Linked DNA regions of Homo sapiens: region 1 is linked to region 2. Evidence: promoter capture Hi-C in 16 types of primary human blood cells and fetal thymus (Javierre and others, 2016). All regions are on one chromosome and are shown on one strand. The core of a region is centred on a gene start or on the middle of the fragment in contact, and the rest is flanking DNA. Distances in the headings are between cores, read along the strand shown.

Region 1 (4,228 bases), core at 883-3,382, 87 kb after region 2:
GTTTAGTTTTGGAGATAGAATACATGGAGCTGGCTATTGCATGCGAGGATGTGCATTAGTTTGGTTTGATCTTTAAATGAAGGAGGCTATTAGGGTTGTCTTGAATTAGATTAAGTTGTGTTGGGTTGATGGGTTGGGCTTGTGGGTGATGTGGTTGGATTGGGCTGTGTTAAATTGGTTTGGGTCAGGTTTTGGTTGAGGTTATCATGGGGATGAGGATATGCTTGGGACACTGGATTCAGGTGGTTCTCATTCAAGCTGAGGCAAATTTCCTTTCAGACGGTCATTCCAGGGAACGAGTGGTTGTGTGGGGGAAATCAGGCCACTGGCTGTGAATATCCCTCTATCCTGGTCTTGAATTGTGATTATCTATGTCCACTTCTGTCTCCTTCACTGTACTTGGAATTGATCTGGTCATTCAGCTGGAAATGGGGGAAGATTTTGTCAAATTCTTGAGACACAGCTGGGTCTGGATCAGCGTAAGCTGCTCTGGTTTTATTGAACAGATGAAATCACATTTTTTTTTTCAAAATCAAAGAAATCTTATAGAGTTAACAGTGGACTCTTATAATAAGAGTTAACACCAGGACTCTTATTCTTGATTCTTTTCTGAGACACCAAAATGAGATTTCTCAATGCCACCCTAATTCTTTTTTTTTTTTTTTTTTTTTTTGAGACACAGTCTGGGTCTTTTGCTCTGTCACTCAGGCTGGAGCGCAGTGGTGTGATCATAGCTCACTGAACCCTTGACCTCCTGGACTTAAGGGATCCTCCTGCTTCAGCCTCCTGAGTAGATGGGGCTACAGGTGCTTGCCACCACACCTGGCTAATTAAATTTTTTTTTTTTTTTTGTAGAGAAAGGGTCTCACTTTGTTGCCCTGGCTGATCTTGAACTTCTGACTTCAAGTGATTCTTCAGCCTTGGACTCCCAAAGCACTGGGATTGCTGGCATGAGCCACTCACCGTGCCTGGCTTGCAGCTTAATCTTGGAGTGTATAAACCTGGCTCCTGATAGCTAGACATTTCAGTGAGAAGGAGGCATTGGATTTTGCATGAGGACAATTCTGACCTAGGAGGGCAGGTCAACAGGAATCCCCGCTGTACCTGTACGTTGTACAGGCATGGAGAATGAGGAGTGAGGAGCCACCGGAACCCCATATTGTTTAGTGGACATTGGATTTTGAAATAATAGGGAACTTGGTCTGGGAGAGTCATATTTCTGGATTGGACAATATGTGGTATCACAAGGTTTTATGATGAGGGAGAAATGTATGTGGGGAACCATTTTCTGAGTGTGGAAGTGCAAGAATCAGAGAGTACTGAATGCCAACGCTTCTATTTCAGGAACATGGTAAGTTGGAGGTCCAGCTTCTGGGCTCAGACGGGTATAGGGACCAGGAAGTCTCACAATCCGATCATTCTGATATTTCAGGGCATATTAGGTTTGGGGTGCAAAGGAAGTACTTGGGACTTAGGCACATGAGACTTTGTATTGAAAATCAATGATTGGGGCTGGCCGTGGTGGCTCACGCCTGTAATCTCATCACTTTGGGAGACCGAAGTGGGAGGATGGCTTGAGCCCAGGAGTTGGAGACCAGCCTAGGCAACATAGCCAGACCCTCTCTCTACAAAAAAATTAAAAATTAGCTGGATGTGGTGGTGCATGCTTGTGGTCTCAGCTATCCTGGAGGCTGAGACAGGAGAATCGGTTGAGTCTGGGAGTTCAAGGCTACAGGGAGCTGCGATCACGCCGCTGCACTCCAGCCTGGGAAACAGAGTGAGACTGTCTCAGAATTTTTTTAAAAAAGAATCAGTGATCATCCCAACCCCTGTTGCTGTTCATCCTGAGCCTGCCTTCTCTGGCTTTGTTCCCTAGATCACATCTCCATGATCCATAGGCCCTGCCCAATCTGACCTCACACCGTGGGAATGCCTCCAGACTGATCTAGTATGTGTGGAACAGCAAGTGCTGGCTCTCCCTCCCCTTCCACAGCTCTGGGTGTGGGAGGGGGTTGTCCAGCCTCCAGCAGCATGGGGAGGGCCTTGGTCAGCATCTAGGTGCCAACAGGGCAAGGGCGGGGTCCTGGAGAATGAAGGCTTTATAGGGCTCCTCAGGGAGGCCCCCCAGCCCCAAACTCACCACCTGGCCGTGGACACCTGTGTCAGCATGTGGGACCTGGTTCTCTCCATCGCCTTGTCTGTGGGGTGCACTGGTGAGATTGGGGGGATAAAGGAAGGGGGGCGGGTTCTGACTCTTATGCTGAAGCCCTTTTCCTCCCACCCAGTGCCCCAGCCTCGTCCCTTCAGCCCACAGTTCAGCCCAGACAATGTGCCCCTGACTCTTCCACATTGCAATAGTCCTCATGCCCACACTAGGTCCCCGCTCCCTCCCACTTACCTCAGACCTTTCTCTCCATTGCCCAGCCAAATCCCTGCTCCCAGCTGCTTTACTAAAGAGCAAGTTCCTGGGCATCTCTGTGTTTCTCTTTATGGGGTTCAAAACCTTTCAAGGACCTCTCTCCATGCCACTGGTTCCTTGGACCCTATCACTGGGCTGCCTCCTGAGCCCCTCAGTCCTACCACAGTCTACTGACTTTTCCTATTCAGCTGTGAGCATTCAACCCTGTCCCCTGGACCTTGACACCTGGCTCCCCAACCCTGTCCCAGGAAACCCAGATTCCACCAGACACTTCCTTCTTCCCCCCGAGGCTATCTGGCCTGAGACAACAAATGCTGCCTCCCACCCTGAGTCTGGCACTGGGACTTTCAGAACTCCTCCTTCCCTGACTCTTTGCCCCAGACCCGTCATTCAATGGCTAGCTTTTTCCATGGGAAAAACACGAGCACCCCCAACCACAACGGCCAGTTCTCTGATTCCCTAAATCCGCACCCTTTTCAAAACCTCAAAAACAAAACAAAACAAAACAAAGCAAGAAACAACTCAGGCAGAACTGTTTGCTTAACCTTGGACATGGTAAACCATCCAAAACCTTCCTCTCCCAGCAACTAAACCTCTCCACTGGGCACTTATCCTTGGTTTCTGGAACCTCTTATTCTCTTAGAACCCACAGCTGCCACCACAGTGTCCCTTCTCCCAGTGTAAGACCCCAAATCACTCCAAATGACCCAACCCCCAACCCGATGCCTGCTTCAGATGTTTCCCATGTCCCCTACTCTGATCTCTGGGGTCAGCTCCGTTCTCAGAGCATGAAGCCTCCCGACCTGGTCCAGCCACCAACCCGCTAACGCAGGGAATAGCTACAGAATTGCCAGCCCTCCCAGGACCCCTTGCTTGTGTCCTGGACTCCCAGTCCTGGTCCTCTGCCCCCATGTCTCTTCAAACCCACAGCTCAGCTCCCTCCCCTATCCAATTCTTTTGGGTCTGATCCCCCTGACCCAGCACCCCCTCCGCAGGTGCCGTGCCCCTCATCCAGTCTCGGATTGTGGGAGGCTGGGAGTGTGAGAAGCATTCCCAACCCTGGCAGGTGGCTGTGTACAGTCATGGATGGGCACACTGTGGGGGTGTCCTGGTGCACCCCCAGTGGGTGCTCACAGCTGCCCATTGCCTAAAGAAGTAAGTAGGACCCTGGGATCTGGGGAGGGAATGGCTGTGTCCCACAGGAATAACAGCGGGATGCTTCCCCCAGGGTCACTTCTCAGGTGAGGCTTCAGACTAAAGGAGAGAGGGAAGGTCCTGGCCCAGGTCGCACCCGGAGGCAGAGCTGGGGCTGGACCACTCTCCCCATGGCTGCCTGGGTTTCTCTCTGTGTCTGATCTCGCTGTGTCTCTTGGTATCTGGCTCTGGTTGTGTCTGTATGACTGTGTTTTGGTCTCTATGTCCCTCTCTCTTTTCTGTCTCCCTGTGTCTGTGTCTCCCCCGTCTCTGTCTCTGGGTCTCTCTGTGGCCATCTCTGTCACCGTGTGTCTCACCCTGCATCTCTTTGCCTGTCTTTCTCTCTGGGTCTCTGCCTCAGCCCTTCCTCATCACTACTGAACACACCCCGTGAGGGTGGGTGGGGAGCACCCAGAAAAAGGAAGGACTTTAAGCTCAATGTGTGTGCATGTGAGGGGGTGCCTGTCATTGCACAGCACTCTCTGCAGGACATCCCTCCACCCTGGGGAGACACAGGGAGGGCTGGTTTCAGCTGTAGCTGGGTGCACAATTGAGGAGGGAGGAAGGAGAAGGGGAAACAAGAAAGGAGGGGAAGGTGGCCGGGCACGGTGGCCC
Region 2 (4,254 bases), core at 495-2,994:
TGGTGGCGCATGCCTGTAATCCCAGCTACTCGGGAGGCTGAGGCAGGAAAATTGCTTGAACCCAGGAGGTGGAGGTTGCAGTGAGCTGAGATTGCACTGTTGCACTCCAGCCTGGGCAACAAGAGCAAAACTCTGGGAAGAAGGAAGGAAGGAAGGAAGGAAGGAAGGAAGGAAGGAAGGGAGGGATGGAAGGAAATTTGTTGGGCTTTTTCAGGAAAACCTAGCACGTGCAGTCAACCCTACTCCAAAGCTGGCTTTTCAGATATTGAGCTGAAATGAAATTGCTTTTGACTAGATGAGAAGGTAGGTGAAATGCAATTGAAGGTGGAAGTGTCCCCCAGGGCATTGACCTGAGGATGCTGGAGGTAGAGGCAGGGGGTGGGGGAAGGGCGCTAAGCAAGGGGGCTGCTAGCGAACTGCCTGTGGGGGCGGGTCTGCACATTTTTATAGGAAGGGACATTGCTGGTGGGTGTTGAAGGTTAAATAGGAGTTTGTTAAGAAAAGAGGCTGAGCACAGTGGCTCACACCTGTAATTCCAACACTTTGGGAGGCTGAGGTAGGAGGATTGCTTGAGGCCAGGAGTTAGAGACCAGCTTGGGTGACATAGTGAGACCCTGTCTCTAAAAAAAATTAAAAAGTTAGCTGGGCATGGTGGTGAACACCTACAGTCCCAGCTACTCAGGAGGCTGAGGCAGGAGGACTGCTTGAGCCTGGGAGTTCAGGGTTGCAGTGAGCTATGATCATACCACTGCACTCTAGCCTGGGCAATAGAGTGAGATCTCATCTCAAAAAGAAAAGAAAAAAGAGGAAGATGTGTTGATACAGTATGACAGTGATGAAGATGATGACGATAACTACAGACCCACTGCAGCTGACAAAGTGCATTCACATTTTGGATCTCTGGCTGCCCTGGCTGTGGTTTTTTGGGGCCCATTGGACAAAGATTTTCGCCTTTGTCTGATGGAGAAGAAATCACGGGATCAAGGGAAATAACAAATCCGAAGTACACAGCAGCCTGTGTTGGTGCCGGGTGCTCAATGTGCCCTGCTTGTTCTTCCCTCTGTGCCCTTACACCAGGTTGAAATGTTCTTCCTCTTCTTGGAATTTCCCCACAGACTCCTACTCATCCCTGAAAACCCAGCGCAGATTCCCAGCTCCTAGCCTCAAACCTGCGAGGGTGGGTCCTCACCACTCTCCTACCTCAGACCCTGGAGTCCGGACCCCCACCCCACTCCCTTCTGAAACACAGAGCCCCAGGTGTGGTGTAGGCCCGAGGCCGGGCGCAAGGGCAGTGGGTCGGCGGAGCAGGATGTGCGGATTCAGTTACATTTATCTGGCCTCAGAGCGATGGCAGAGGGAGAGGCAGGGCTCTTGTGCGGGGAGGTCCTGTGTCTTCTCACTGCTGAGCCTGAGAGAGGAAAACAGGGACATATACAGAGATGTGGGAGAGAAAGAGAGACCAAGATGACAGAACTGGACCAGGGAGACAGAGACTCAGCCCCCACCTCCGCTCTTCTCCCGCTCACCTTGTTGAAGAAATAGATGGAGGTCAGGATGGTGAACAAGGCCATGGCCAGGGTCACATTCTGGGGGGGAGATCAGAGGTCAGGACCCTTCCCCTCCCTGCCCTCTGCCCAGCCCCAGGCCTCCCTTCCCTGCCAGACCCCTCCTCACTTCCTGAAAGTTCATGGCCTTGGGACTCCAGCCACCCCTTGGTTGGTCTTCTCTCTCTTTCCTGGGCCTCTGAGCCAGAGGGGGGAGAAGCCACTGGAACTCCGAGAGGGGGTTGTCGGAGAGACCAGAATGGTGGCCATGGCAACGGGGAAAGGGCATTCTGGTAGAGGGGACAGGCAGGGGCATAGGGCAGATACAGACCCTGGTGTGGCCCGCCACATGTGGTGTCTGAATGTGACATCGGGACGTGTGAGATTGGAGAGTCTCAACCCTGAACACCATACTGAGGTGTTTGGGTTTTGCCCCGGAGGGTGCTGGGGAGCCATGAGAGGGTTGAGAGCAGGGGAGGGACCAGGTCAGTTCTGGGTATAGAAATATCTCAAAACAGGAGCCTGCAGGCCAGGAGAACAGTAAGGGAGGCCCAGGCAAAATTTCCTCCTCCAGATGGGAGGATCACTTGAGCCCAGGGGGTTGAGGCTGCCATGAGCCAAGATCACGCCACTGCACTCCAGCCTGGGCAAGAGTGAGATCCTGTCTCCACAACTAACAACTAAGAAAAAATAAAATAAAATACATATGATACATTTGTGAGATACCTATTTACCTATCTATCGCTACCACAAAAATGGGGACTATACAATCTGCTACTCAGGTAGCTATTTGCGTTATTTGTGGCAGATATAGTCTCGCTATTTTTGGTAGTTATGTTGTACAACTGTGAACACTTATTGGGGAAATATATGTGTGTGTGTGTATATGTATACACACACACACACACACACACACACACACACACACACAAACACATATATATAGGGTTGGGTGCAGTGGCTCATGCTTGTAATCCCAACACTTTGGTTAAGTGAGACAGTAGAATTGCTTGAGCCCAGGAGTTCAAGGCCAGCCTGGGCAACATTGTAAGACCCCATCTCTTTAAATATATATAAATATAGGCCAGGTGCCGGTGGCTCACACCTGTTTTCCCAACACTTTGGGAGGCCGGGGCGGGAGGATCACCTGAGGTCAGGAGTTTGAGACCAGCCTGGCCAACATGGCGAAACTCCATCTCTACTAAAAAACAAAAAAACAAAAAAATTAGCCGGGCATGGTGGTGCACGCCTGTAGTCCCAGCTATTTGGGAGGCTGAGGCACCAGCAACACTTGAACCCCAGGCGGAGGAGGTTAAATTGAGCCGAGATTGTGCCACTGCACTCTAGCCTGGGCAACAGAGCGAGACTCCATCTCAAAATAATAATAATAAATAAAAATAAATAAATAAATAGAAAATAAATAGAAAAATATATACTTTTATTAATGAAGCAATGGGTCCTTATTTGCTGATTCAGTGGTCACAGTTATACAACATCGCTACTATGAATAACAAGAATTGATTGTAAACACGGTACCTCACGGCACTACCCAGAACATTCCAGAAGGCAACACATTCTGCAGAGCAAACGGCACCGTCTCTCCAACAAATCCATGCCACAGTGCAAAACAAAAGCAAGTAGCCTTGCTATATTTGAAAAAAATCCGTTAAGAGACACAAGACCAGCTTTGAGGGGTGATCCTGGACCGGGTTTTGGCTTGGACAAAACAAGTTATAAAGGCTCTTTGTGGGTGGAGGCCGAGGTGGGCGGATCACCTGAGGTCAGGAGTTTGAGACCAGCCTGGCCAACATGGTGAAACCCTGTCTCTACTAAAAATACAAAAATTAGCCAGGTGCAGTGGTGTGCACCTATAGTCCCAGCTACTCAGGAGGCTCAGGCACGAGAATCATCAGAACCCAGGAGGCAGAGGTTGCAGTGAGCCGAGATCGTACCACAGCACACCAGCCTGTGTGACAGAGTGAGATCCTGTCTCAAAAAACAAAACAAGACAAAGTCTCTTTGGGGAGAAACGGAGGGACATTTGAATAGGGAATGGGTATCAGACAAGACGAAAGCACTACTGCCAAGGAGAAGAGGAGGTTAACTGAAAGACGCAGGTTACAAAATTGCAGGTTCTGTATGATCTCATTTTGGTAAGAAGTACATACATGAAAAACTGCATTTAAACATCAGGTTTCACTCTGTCGTCCAGGATGGAGTGGAGTGACAGAATCAGGGCTCACTGCAGCCTCGACTTCAGGCTCAAGCGATGAGTGGCTGGGACTACAGGCATATGCCACTACACCTGGCCAGTTTTTTGGTATTTTTAGTAGAGATGGGGTTTCACCATGTTGCCCAAGCTGGTCTCAAACTCCTGGATTCAAGTGATCTGCCCACCTTGGCCTCCCAAAATGACAGGATTACAGGTGTCAGCCACCATGCCTGGCCCAGTTATATTGATTTTAGACTTCCAACCTCCAGAACTGTAAGGGAATAAATGTGTGTCATTTTAAGCCACTGAGTGGTAACTTGTCACAGCAGCCAATACATCAGTAGATAGGAAAGTGCTGACATCTCCAGGGGCTAGAACGTGGTTTCTAGTTTCTTAATTTTGCTTCAGGATTTTTTTCTCTTTTCTGTTTTTTTTAGAGACAGGCTCTTGGTTTGTTGTCCAGGCTGTAGTGCAAAGGCACAATTACAGCTCACTGAA

Evidence for each region. The method cuts DNA at HindIII sites, captures the fragments that hold promoters and counts their contacts. A CHiCAGO score of 5 or more calls a contact.
Region 1: a contact is called between the fragment with the promoter of KLK2 here and the fragment with the promoter of SMIM47 in region 2, in 3 of 17 cell types (erythroblasts, M0 macrophages and activated CD4 T cells). The highest score is 5.3, in erythroblasts.

What each region holds. Positions count from the first base shown.
Region 1 is chr19:50,871,307-50,875,534 of GRCh38, forward strand. It overlaps KLK2 (kallikrein related peptidase 2), which reads left to right and starts at 2,133. Exons shown (of 5, transcript NM_005551.5): 1 at 2,133-2,213; 2 at 3,415-3,574. The coding sequence starts at 2,168. RefSeq lists promoters at 1-2,158, 1,533-2,158, 1,805-2,158, an enhancer at 1,957-1,971 and a cis regulatory region at 1,957-1,971. The HindIII fragment of the contact is 10,018 bases long and covers 1-4,228 here.
Region 2 is chr19:50,784,416-50,788,669 of GRCh38, forward strand. SMIM47 (small integral membrane protein 47) reads right to left here and starts at 1,745. Exons shown (of 3, transcript NM_001384597.1): 1 at 1,675-1,745; 2 at 1,527-1,586; 3 at 1,313-1,408. The coding sequence starts at 1,689. The coding sequence ends at 1,397. It overlaps LOC105372439 (a long non-coding RNA gene), which reads right to left. Exons shown (of 4, transcript XR_936026.3): 4 at 2,966-4,027. The HindIII fragment of the contact is 13,889 bases long and covers 1-4,254 here.